2 separate regions of the Homo sapiens genome follow, and region 2 is linked to region 1. The links are contacts of gene promoters, found by promoter capture Hi-C in blood cells and fetal thymus (Javierre and others, 2016). All regions are on one chromosome and are shown on one strand. The core of a region is centred on a gene start or on the middle of the fragment in contact, and the rest is flanking DNA. Distances in the headings are between cores, read along the strand shown.

Region 1 (6,347 bases), core at 1,436-3,935:
TGAAATGTTTGTTCATCCAAATGTTGTTTATGCAAAGATCAGAGCAAGTATTTCGTTTGGGTGTGGCAGTTCAAAGAAACACCTTGATGACCTTTGCGGCTTATCTAATAACGCTAGCATTATGTTTTTTTTGTGATCACGGAAGCGGGTGCAGGGGTGGCATGATTTATAATTCAACAGTCTTGGTTTAGCCAGTCTAGAACACTTAGGAGCATATAATCAGGTCAAGTTTTCAGACCCACACAAAGCCTGCAGGGTGGCTGAGACCTAGGCTGGCCTTAGTCCTCAACTTTTTGAGCCAACATACACTTGAGTCTGCAGTGGATGGACAGTTTCCCACCGCTTGCCTTCTCTTTCTCCTCTTTCAAAGTCCTTCTGTCTTTTACCCCTTTGATTCTGGTTTGACAATTCCATTCTTCTCTCATTATTTGGTCAACTGGTAGACTATGTGTGGGAGCGGGAGATTGAGGGGTTTAGAGAATCATGTGGTTGGAGAATGAGGGTAGAGGATGTTAGAGTGACCTCCGAGTGAATTATCAATAAGACCATAAGACCTTTCTCAATGCAAATGTTAACCTCCAGCTAGTACATATTAAGCTGATTATTCTGCTTAAAGGTCATTTGTTTACTGCCTCACCTTGAACCACATTATAAAAGGTTCCCTTGTTTACTTTTGTTTAGAACTGGAGAGAGGATTTTAAAAATTTAATCCCAAGGGTCCCAGAGCCTGGCTTAAGGAGCTTAAGGGTCTGCTGGCCCCAGTTTAAGTTTTGTTCTTCTGACACAATGCCGAGAAAAGCATTGATTCCAGTTCAATTCTCAGGTTTGTTTATTTGGTTTTGCTTTTATGCAGTTGGGGGAAAATAGAAAGAAAAATGGCATTAAGTTCAAGTGTGGCCACCCTTTCTATTTCAACAAGTAGTATTCTACTAAACTCAGTAAAGACTTGCCGCTTGGGAGAACTAAGGCGGAGGGCACTCTTCTTTATCGTGCAATTCTGACCTGGCAGACATAGCATTCTGGGTTTACATCTATTATGTCACTAATCCTGACAACACCTCTGTAGGGTACTTGATAATATTCTCAATTTAACAATGAGTAACAACTTCTGGGAGGAGGGTGACTTGTTCAAGGTCCTACAGCTAGTAAGTGGTAAATCAAGAACTTAAGTCCAAAATTTTCTAACCGGAAAGCTAATACTTTCTCTACTTGTTTCTAAAAACATGTATTTAATTGATAACTATTTTTGAGCATCTGCTATGTGTCAGGTACTGTGCTGGAGTGGAGAATGCAAGCATGCGTAAAGATACAGTTCCTGTCCCTGCGGAGCTTGCAGGCCACTTGGCTCTGGTCAGGTGCAATGTGTTAAGTGCTAGGGAAGGTTGCGGTGGCAGCACATAGGAGAGGCACTCGGCTGAGTTTCTGGGGCTCAGACGCGTAAGTCCAGAGAAAGTACATCTACAGAAGCCCGAAAACAGTTTCTCAAATTTTACTGTAAATGTGAATCATTCTAGGATCTTGTTAAAATGTAGGTTCTGATTCAGGAGGTCTGGAGTGAGGCCTAAAGTTCTGCTTTTTTTTTTTTTTTTTGAGACAGAGTCTTGCTCTGTCTCCCAGCCTGCGATCACCACTCACTGCAGCCTTGACCTCCTCCCACCTTAGCCTCCCGAGTAGTTGGGACTACAGATGCGGATCACCATGCCCAGCTAAGTTTTTGTATTTTTTATAGAGACAAGGTTTTGCTGTGTTGCCAGGCTGGTCTCAGGCTCCTGGGCTGAAGCGATCCTCCCACCTTGGCCTCCCAAGGTGCTGGGATTACAGGTGTGAGCCACCGCACCTGGCCGATTCTGCCTTTCTAACAAGCTCCCGAAGAGGCTGTTGCAGCTGGTCCATGGATCACCCTGTTAGTAGTAAGGCTCTGAAGAGCAAGAAAGGGTTAGCCAGGTAGAGAGGTGTGTCGGTGGTGACAGCTTCCCCAGTAAAGATGCAGAATGGGCAAAGCCTTATGGAGAAAAGGATCAAGATCATCTTCAGGGAACTGTGGTTTCCCCAGTAATCCTGGACTGTGGGGCATGAGGTGGTGAGGTAGCTCAAGAAGGGGCTGGAGGTGAAAGTGAAGTAAATGGAAACCCATCATACAGGGCCCCATAAGCCTTGTTAAGGGGCTGTGTCTATTACTGAGGGCAGTGAGATGCCATTCACTGTTTTAAGCTGATGAGTTCCTTTATCGGATCTGTGCTTTCCAAAAAGCACACTGACTACAGTGTGGAAACTGCATTAGAACAGTGTTTTCAATGCTGTCTCCATGTCAGAATCACGTGGGGAACTTTATAAAATGCCAATGCTCAGCCACCGTCCCTAACCCCGACCCCAGACAATTCAAGAGGATCTCTAAGGCAGAAGTTCTTAAAGCATGGTCCCTGGACCAGCATCAGCAAAAGCATCAGGGAACTTGTTAGAAATGCAAATTCCCAGGCCCCCTCCCAGACTTACTGAATCAGGAACTCCGGGAGTGGGCCCAGCAGCCTGAGGTTTAAGAAGCTCCCCAAGGGCCTCAGGTACAGCTAATGTTTGAGAACCACTGGATTAGAGGGAGAAAAGTGGGGAGAGAGAGAGGATACTTGACCAATCAGAAGCAGAGAGATGATGATGTCACAGAACCCACATTGGCTCTTATTAAACTCGAGGATCAACATCATCTTGATAGAGTCCCATAGTGTCTCAAAGTGGGGAGGTTAGGATGCTGGTTAGTCATGGAGTATTTTCAGAGTGGAAGTTGATCAGTGACGTTTTGTCAGGGATTGATCCAATTTATAAACTAGGTAAGTTTCTGTGTTATTGACTGAATTGTTTTTCCCTCCAAATTCATATGTTGAAGACCTACGCCCCAATGTGATGGTATTTGGAGATCAGGCCTTTGGGAGATAATTAAGGTTAGATGAGGTTATGAGGGTGGGGCCCTCATAAATGAGATTAGTGCCCTTATAAGAAGAGGCACCAGAGAGCTTTCTCTCTCCCTCCTCCATCTCTCTCTCCCCTTCCCCTCCTGCTCCCTCTGTTCCCAATCCCTGCTTCCCAACTCCCACCATGTGAGGACACATTAAGAAGGCCACCATTGGCCAGGTGCAGTGGCTCATGCCTGTAATCCTAGCACTTTGGGAGGCTGAGGTGGGTGGATTACGAGGTCAGGAGTTCAAGACCAGCCTGGCCAACATGGTGAAACCCCATCTCTACTAAAAATACAAAAAGTAGCTGGGCGTGTTGGTGGGTGCCTATAATCCCAGCTACTTGGGAGGCTGAGGCAGGAGAATCATTTGAACCTGTGAGGCAGAGGTTACAGTGAGCTGAGATCACGCCATTGCACTCCAGACTGGGCGACAGAGCAAGACTCTGTCTTAAAAAAAAAAGAGAGAGAGAGAAAGAAAAAGAAAAAGAAAAAAAGAAGGCCACCTTCTACAAGCCAGAAAGAGAGCCCTCACCAGAAACAGACCATGCTAGCACTTGATCTTGGACTTCTATTCTCCAGAACTGTGAGAAAATAAATTTCTGTTGTTTAAGCCACCCACTCTGTGGTATTTCGTGATGGCAGCCTGAGCTAAGACACTTGTGGAAAGGTAAGTGGTCTTGCTGGGACACATGGGTCCCTGTGGAGTTAACTGTTAAAATGGTTTGTCTGTGGTCTTATCTTGGGACATGTGGGTCTGAGTGAATTGCAGCTGTAACAAATTGAGCTTATATAGTTTACGTTGCAAGTTTTCAGTTTTGAAATTGTGGCTTTTGTTTCATATTTTAGAATCCTAAACTAAGGCTGTGATATGAATTATTGAAATTCAAAACTCTTAATAGGGTTGTCAGATAAAATATAGAACACCCAGTTAAATTTGAATTTCAAGTAAACAGTAAAAACATGTTTAATATAATTATATGCCAAATAGTGCATGGAATATACTTATTCTAAAAAAAATTCATGGTTTATCTGAAATTCAAATTAAACTGGGTTCCTGTATTTTTAAAAATTTTATTGAGGTACACTATACATGTATAATTTACCATATTTACCATTTTTAAATGCAGTTCAGTAGCAATAAATACATTGATATTCTTTGTTTTGCCTTTATTCCCCTCCCCTTCGCTGCCTCTGGTAACCACCAATCTACTGTCTATCTTCACGAGATTCACTTTTTTTAGCTCCCACATATGAGTGAGAACATACGATATTTGTCTCTCTGTGCTTGGCTTATTTCACACAGCATAATGGCCTCCATTTCTATCCATGTTGCTGCAAAGGGCAGGATTTCATTCTTTTTTTATAGCTTAATAATACTCCACTGTGTATATATATATCACATTTTCTTTATCCATTCATCCATTGATGGGCACTTAGATTCATTTCATATTTTGGCTATTGTGAATAGTGCTGCAATAAACACGGGCGTGCAGCTATCTCTTTGATATATTGATTTCCTTTCTTTCACATATATACCCAGGAGTGGCATTGCTGGATCATATGGTAGTTCTATCTTTAGTGTGTTGAGCAGCCTCCATACTATTCTTCATAGTGGTGGTACTAACTTATACTCCCAGCAATAGTGGATGAGGGTTCCCCTTTCTCCACGTCCTTGTAGGCCTCTGTTACTGCCTGTCCTTTTGATACAAGCTATTTTAACTGAGGTGACAGATACGATCACATTGTGTTTTTTATTTGCATTTCTCTGATGATTTAGTGATGTTTACAAATATTTTCTCTCATTTTGTGGGTTGTCTATTCACTTTGTTAGTTGTTTCCTTTGCTGTGCAGGAGCTCTTTAGCTGGATGTAATCCCAATTGTCTATTTTTGCTTTGATGGCCTATACTTTTGAGGTCTTACACAAGAAATCTTTGCCCAGACCAATGCCCTTGAGTATTTGCCCTGTGTTTTCTTCTAGTAGTTTCACAGTTTCAGGTCTTAGATTCAAGTCAATAATCCATTTTGATTTGATTTTTGTATATGTTGAGAGATAAGGGTCTAGTTTCATTCTTCTGCATATAGTTATCCAGTTTCCCCAGCACCATTTATTGGAAAGACTGTCCTTTCCCTATTGTATGTTCTTGATGCCTTCGTCAAAGATGAGTTGGTTGTAAATGCGTGGATTTATATCTGGGTTCTCTATTCTGTTCCATTGGTCTATGTGTGTCTGTTTTTATGCCAATATGCTGGCATACTGGCATAAAATCATGCTGCTTTGGTTACTATAGCTTTGTGGTAAATTTTGAAGTTAGGTAGCGTGATGCCTCCAGCTTTATTCTTTTTGTTCAGGATTGCTTTGGCTATTTGAAGTATTTCATGGTTCCATATAAATTTTAGGATTGTTTTCTCTCTTTCTGTGAAGAATGTCACTGGTATTTTGATAGGGATTGCATTGAATCTGTAAATTAATTTGGGTAGTATTGTAATTTTAACAATATTAATTATTTCAATCCATGAGCATGGAGTATCTTTCAATTTTATTGTGTCCTGTTCAATGTCTTTCATCAGAATTTTATTGTTTTCCTTGTATAGATCTTTCACTTCTTTGGTTAGATTGATTCCTAGGTGTCTTGATTTTTTACAAATTGTTCACTGGTGGCATATATAAATACTATTGATTTTTGTATGTTGATTTTGTGTCCTGCACCTTTATTGAATTTATCAGTTCTAACAGTTTTGTGGTGGAGTCTTTAGGTTTCTCTAGGTATAAGATTTGTCATGTGCAAACAAGGCTCATTTGACTTCTTCCTTTCCAGTTTAGATGCCTTTTGTTTCTTTCTTTTGCCAAATTACTCTGGCCAGGACTTTCCAATATTACGTTGAATAACAGTGTTGAAAGTGGACATCCTTGTGTGGTTCCAGTCTTTAGAGGAAAGGCCTTCCATTTTTCCCTATTCACTATGATGTTAGCCATGGGTTTGTCATAGATGGGCTTTATTATTTTGAGGTATGTTCCTTCTATACCCATTTTTGAGGAGCCTTTTTATCATAAGGGGATGTTGAATTTTATAAAAATGTTTTTTGGCATCTATTGAAATAATCATATGGTTTTTATTCTTAATTCCATTAATGTGATATATCACAGGTATTGATTTGCATATGTTGAAACATCCTTGCATCCCTGGGATGAATCCCACTTGATCATGGTGAATGATCTTTTTAATGTATTGCTGAATTCAGTTTGCTAGTATTTTGTTGAGGATTTTTGCATCTATGTCCATCAGAAATATGACCTGTAGTTTTCTTCTTTTGTGGTATTTTCTTCTCTGGTGTTGGTATCAGAGTAATGCTGGCCTCATGGAATGAATTTGGAAGAATGTCCTCTTCAATTTTCTAGAA
Region 2 (6,347 bases), core at 2,541-5,040, 250 kb before region 1:
ACACCAGGCTCAATGGAAAGAAAACAGGGCATGCACTTAAGCCTAAATCTAGATTGAAGTTAATGACGCGCCTTTAGATTCACTGTGGATCCTGTTTACTGGGCTGGATAAAGAATCAAAGAGTGGATCTGGATTATCGTACTAAGCACTTTTGATTTTTTTTTCTTTTTTCTTTTTTTTTTTTTTTGAGACGGAGTCTCTCTTTGTCACCCAGGCTGGAGTGCAGTGGCGCCATCTTAGCTCACTCCAACCTCCACTTCCCGGGTTCAAGTGATTCTCCTGCCTCAGCCTCCTGAGTAGCTGGGATTACAGGCATGTGCCACGGCTAATTTTTGTGTTTTTAGTAGAGATGGGGTTTCACCATGTTGGTCAGGTTAGTCTTGAACTCCTGACCTCGTGATCTGCCTGCCTCAGCCTCCCAAAGTGCCGGGATTACAGGTGTGAGCCACCGCGCTTGGCTATTCTTAATTCTATAACGAATAGCAGTTCTACGAGGTGGGTATTGTCATCTCCGGTTTTTAGATAGGAAAATCAGGAGGCATTAGGGCTACAGAAGAAATCAAATGGCACCCTCAAGTCTACCTAAGGAAAAAGTACATCTACAGGGTGGGGGCAGGGTGCAAGGAACTAACAAAGAATGATGAAGCACCCCGGAAGGGACAATGGCCTGAGAGGGGAAGGGGAGGGAGCTGGAGTCTCAGAGAAGGGCCAGCTGGACAGGAGCTGTCTGGAACCAAGCATCGTAGTGAGGCAGGGAAAGTTGGGCTAATACATTCCAGACCTGTCCCCTTTCTGATCTCGTGCTCTCCACTGGATGGAAGCCAGAGTGATGCAGTTAGAGCCCAGAAGAAGGCAGACAAGGTGGGGAGTAGATGTGGAGGTTGAAATGAGAATAACCAGCACAGAGGTTTGGTTGGATACGTGTAAATAAAAGAGCTGGGATTTTAAGCAGGTTTGTCCTCAACTAAACTCGAAAGCTCTCACTCCTTCTACCATGACAAAGTTTTTACGACTCTGCATTGTGGCCTATTGCTGGTCATGATATCAATTTGGTGGCTTGCAGTCAGCATTTTACAAACCGATGTAGGACAAACTATCAGAGTGCACTGCAACATGCTTCAGTTATACAGATCACAGCAACAAATGTATTTCTTACTATGGAATACCTGCATGACGCCACATTGCGCTCATATGTCTTAATTCAGCCTCACAGGAACATGCCCTAAATTCCAAAATACAGAAAAGGCCAAGGCCATAAGAAGACTGTCAGAAACAGAAACGATTTTAAGAGGTTGGATGCAGTTGAAAGGATTCAGCCCATGTTTCTAATGGCTGCGTATCAGTGAACAGGTGGTTCAACAACAGGAAAAGTAGCCACAGATTAAGGCCAGGAAATGGAGGAAAAATGAGCAACAGTAACCAGCTAGCATTTTTGCAGGTGAACACCTTTGTTGTCTCAGCAATTCCAGTAGTTTAAAATCAGAGAATTTTCTTTTTATGTATTTATTGAGATGGGGTCTTGCTCTGTTGCCTAGGCTGGAGGGCAGTGGCACGATCACGACTCACTGCAACCTTGACCTCCCGGACCCAAGCAGTCCCCCTACCTCAGCCTCCCAAGTAGCTGGGACTACAGGCACACATCACCATGACTTTTTGTATTTTTTGTAGAGATGGGGTTTCACCATGTTGTCCAGGCTGGTCTTGAATTCCTGGGCTCAAGCAATCCTCCTGCCTCAGACTCCCAAAGTGTTGGGATCACAGCTACTCTTCCTGGCCAAAGAATTTTCTTTTCTTCTTCTTTTTTTTTTAATTGATTTTTACTTAACCTAATTTATAGGCTTACAGGGAATTTTCTTTACACGACTGTAGAATATGGGCTTTGTAACTGGGCAGACTTTACTTTTTTGTTACAAGCCACTTAATAGATTTATGAGTTATCTAGCCTCTTTGATTTGGCAAATAGAAACCTCTTAGAGTCATGGAAGACACATGCAAATCACGCTAATATATGTAAAGCATCTGACTTGACTTACAAGTGCAATAAATAATGGTGATTCCTTTTTGTACTGTTATAATTCCACACTGGCTTTTAAGTAAAAATGGTTATTATATGTGAATACACCTTCCTTACTGCAAAGGCTAAACAAGTATTATTAAAAGGAATAGTTTTATAGGTCACTGTTTTTAAATCATAGGCAGAGCTAACACTAAAGTGAATCTCAAAGTAAATCCCATCAAAGTCCTCTCAGTGCAGAGACAGCAGCTAGGGAGAAGACAGAATAAGGTAAGTGTTAGAGGAAAAGAACGCTGTGAGTTTTGTGCAGGAGTCCTGAACCCAAACTATTTTTTTTTTTTTAAAGATGAGGATTCACTCTGTTGCCCAGGCTAGAGCACAGTGGTGCAATCACAGCTCACTGTAGCCTTAAACTCCTGGGCTCAAGCGATCCTCCCACCTCAGCCTACTGAGTAGCTGAGACCATAGGCATAAGCCACTGTGCCTGGCTTGAAACTGGCATTACAAATGTAATTAAACCTGCTCTGTAGCCTTACCCACTACTTTATCCTACCCATCTCCCACCAACAGATGCAAAAACACATTTTATACTTTTGAGTGCTAGACTTATTATTTCAAACAGACACTTTTTTTTTGCAAATCAAACTTTAAATGTGACTTTATTATCTCTCTTCCATTTTTATTATTGAATAAGTGAATGAAATATTAAACTAAATTATAACTTTTCCTGAACTGTTTTTAAATCATAGGCAGAGCCAGGGTTTTCTTTTTTTCTCTCTCTCTCTGTAATTGCGACATGAATGTACTTTGATCCCAGTAATCATTTTCAATCAATGGGAAAACAAATGAAAAAAAATCCCATGCTGGAATGATGCAAATAGGTGAGCTTGCTTATTAGAATCTTTTTTTCTTTTCCTCTTACAGGCCACTCACATAATACATATCCAAGTCAGAGAATGCTGATATAAACCTTGCCCACCTCTCTCAGCCCGTCTTTCTTACTCAGACAATTTCTGAGCAGCTCTTTGATGAACACACAATCTTCAGTTTCCAGGACAAACTGAGCCACAGCCTTCCCTCCTGGCAGATGGCTCCTCACCATCTGACTTTTGACACTGTCCAGGACAACTCCCCTGATGTCTTTAGGCTTTCCTGGCATACCAAAGATGATAAACAGACCCAGGCAATCCTCTCCTATTAAGTTACAGAATTCTTCCAGCTTATCAAATCTACTTTTCTTCCAGGAAGACTCCTCTACCCTTGATTCTGGATTGGAAAGGTCACAAGGCTTAGATTCCACAGGAGGAGGTGAAGACATCTGCAGAGTCTGTACTGCGAGCTGAAGCTTTATTTGCTTGTTGGATCCCCAAAAGGTCCAAATCCAGTCTGCACCAAACAGGAAGGCTTGGTGCTTGGTCATCTTGGTGGTGGTCAGCCACTCATCAACTCCCTTTTCTTGGCAGAAAGTGATGAAATGGATTAAGAAGATCTCATTCAGAGTATTTGCAGCTGGGCAGAGTTTACTTGGAGGATATTCAAATCCAAGGTACTCCTTCAGTTTCTGAGCTGCATGGACTATAGCTTCACTGACCACCTCACAGACGACGGGCACCTCTTTGCTGTCCTTCAGAGCCAACTGTTGCGATGCTTTCTGCCCCATTTTCTCTGCATCCAAATATCAAACATGTGAATCTGGTTCAGACGTACTTCTTTTTCAAAGTAAAAGTTCTGCAGGGAGGCCACATCTGTTAATGGTTCATGTTTTTCTAACTCTACAGCTTCCTCGGGTGTAGTTAAGCATATATACATACAGCTAAATAAACATGTTAGTTCTCTCTGTTTGTCAGTTGGGTGTGTTGTGTTCATACAGTTCCTGCTGGTTTATTAAGTTAAAGATACTAAATTTCACACAAAACATCTGTTCTATCTAGGTTATATTCACTCTACTTTTAATCTTTGGTAATCTCTTCCAACATGTTTCCTCTTTCCAAGTTTTAGTTGAAGTAAAAATAGCACGTTAGTTCTTTTTGTTTTTGTTTTTTGAGACAGGGTCTCACTCTGCTACCCAGGCTGGAGTGCAGTGGCGCAATCATGGCTCACTGCAGCTTCAACCTCCCTGGGCTCAGGTGATCTCACCTCAGCCTCTTGAGTAGCTGGGGCTACAAGTGTATACCACCACACCTGGCTAATTTTTGTGTATTTTTTGTAGAGGTGGGGTTTCACCATGTTGTCCTGGCTGGTCTCAATCTCCTAGGCTCAAGCAATCCTCCCGCCTCGGCCTCCCAAAGTGCTGGGATTATAGGCATGAGCCACTGCACCCAGCCCTATGTTAGTTTTTTAAATATCCATACACCTCTTTCTACAACTAACTTCTTCCAATCTCTAGGTGAGTCATTTCCATTTGCTTTTCCTATTTTCTTTTTTTGTTTGTTTTTGTTTCTTTTACCTTCTGCCATGATTCTTCATTCCCCAGCTCAGTTGCTTCTTTTCCTACAAAAGCTTCTCAAACAAAGGCCTCAAATTCCTATCTGTTGATACACATTATAAACTCCATTCGAACAAATTTATGGCAGTTTATAAAGAGATTGTGTTATTTTCTATGTCAGAAACAAAGCCTGTTACTATGAACAACGGAAAATGAAATAAGGGCAATAAAAATGAGGCAATTATCAATTGACTTTATTTCCTTTCATATGGTAACACCAGCAGTGTATGATATTTGTAAATAAAATACGTCATAAAAAAATTTAACCTTATTACCTATTATCAGTTAGGTTATACCATCCTGAATAAAAAATATTTGGGCCGGGCATGGTGGCTCACGCCTGTAATCCCAGCACTTTGGGAGACCGAGGGGGGCGATTCACGAGGTCAGGAGATTGAGACCTTCCTGGCTAACACGGTGAAACCCCGTCTCTACTAAAAATACAAAAACAAAATTAGCCAGGCGTGGTGGCAGGTACCTGTAGTCCCAGCTGCTTGGGAAGCTGAGGTGGGAGAATGGCGTGAACCCAGGAGGCGGAGCTTGCAGTGAGCTGAGATTGTGCCACTGCACTCCAGCCTGGGCAACAGAGCAAGACTCCGTCTCAAAAAAAAAAAAAATGGCGTCTGTAACAGTTTCCTGGTATTTTCAACCAGGTTCTAAGAACAAATTGATTTTTTGAAGTGGTGACATCTAGTCACATTAAAATAAAATCCAAATAAAGTAAGTTCAATACAGTTACCACATAATGAATGGTAGAGTTTAAAGAAAATTATTATTAGCATCAAATCAATTGTTATGAATAAATAGTAATTTGATATTACAAGTTCTTTAATGAATACCTTGGTAACTTGCTGACAACTTAAAAGATAATACCACTGATATTCAAATACAGTTTATAATCAAGTCCAGTGGCAGATACTGAACCGCCCACCTCCACCTCAATTTGTGAAAACCTGTCTTTTGTAGGGTTGGCTACCATGGGTAATTACGCAGCACTGAATAAAAAATAGAATATTTTTCTAATACTTCTACAAATATAATAAACACAGTAACAGTTTTTGCTGCAGCGATTTTCTTTACAAAGAATATTTGGGCCCAGTGCTACAGAAAAACATGAACTACATCTTATCGTCACAAAATAGCCATTATAAAATGAATTTTGCAGCCTCTGTTTTTTTGAACTTTGAAATAAAATGTTCAGACAAATATTCAACTTTTTAAAAACCTCCATTCATTGATAGCCTGAGAAATGTACAATGAACATGTTTAGGCAGACTGCTAGTATTTTGCTGTAATGACACAGTTAACAAAGAGAAAAGAAACAATACTGTAAAGGTTTCTGCTTTGCTTTTGGCTTCCTCAAAAACTATTTCTACAAATTTTGGGGAGAGGAGGTGATTCTGAATGTATTCAAGTTAGTGGTAGGCCAGGCAGAGTGGCTCACACCTGTAATTCCAGCACTTTGAAAGGCTGAGGTGGGAGGATCACTTGAGGACAGGAGTTTGAGACCAGGCTGGACAACATGGTGAGACCCTGTTTCTACAAAAAAACTTTTTGAAAAATCAGCCAGGTGTGAAGGGTGGGGTGGGGTGGGAGGCCACACACCTGTAATCCTAGCTATTAGGGAAGCTGAGGTGAGAGGATCACTGGAGCCTAGGAATTCAAGGCTGCAGTGAGCTATGATCACGCCACTGCACTCCAGCATGGGCAACAGAATGAGACTCTGTCACTAAAAAAAAACAATAATAATAAAAAAATAACAGGCTGGGCGTGGTGGCTCATGCCTATAATCCCAGTACTTTGGGAGGCTGAGGCGGGCAGATCACAAGGTCAGGAGTTCGAGTCCCA

The links. The method cuts DNA at HindIII sites, captures the fragments that hold promoters and counts their contacts. A CHiCAGO score of 5 or more calls a contact.
Region 2: a contact is called between the fragment with the promoter of REP15 here and the fragment with the promoter of BMAL2-AS1 in region 1, in 10 of 17 cell types (endothelial precursors, non-activated CD4 T cells, total B cells and 7 more). The highest score is 7.1, in endothelial precursors.

Annotation. Positions count from the first base shown.
Region 1 is chr12:27,442,972-27,449,318 of GRCh38, reverse strand. It overlaps BMAL2-AS1 (BMAL2 antisense RNA 1), which reads left to right and starts at 2,685. Exons shown (of 4, transcript NR_109975.1): 1 at 2,685-2,822. It overlaps SMCO2 (single-pass membrane protein with coiled-coil domains 2), which reads right to left and starts at 2,583. Exons shown (of 9, transcript NM_001395208.2): 1 at 2,494-2,583. The HindIII fragment of the contact is 11,011 bases long and covers 1-6,347 here.
Region 2 is chr12:27,693,890-27,700,236 of GRCh38, reverse strand. It overlaps REP15 (RAB15 effector protein), which reads right to left and starts at 3,790. Exons shown (of 1, transcript NM_001029874.3): 1 at 2,641-3,790. The coding sequence starts at 3,674. The coding sequence ends at 2,964. It overlaps PPFIBP1 (PPFIB scaffold protein 1), which reads right to left. Exons shown (of 30, transcript NM_003622.4): 30 at 4,673-6,347. The region is part of intron 3 of MRPS35-DT (MRPS35 divergent transcript); the gene reads left to right. The HindIII fragment of the contact is 1,154 bases long and covers 3,362-4,515 here.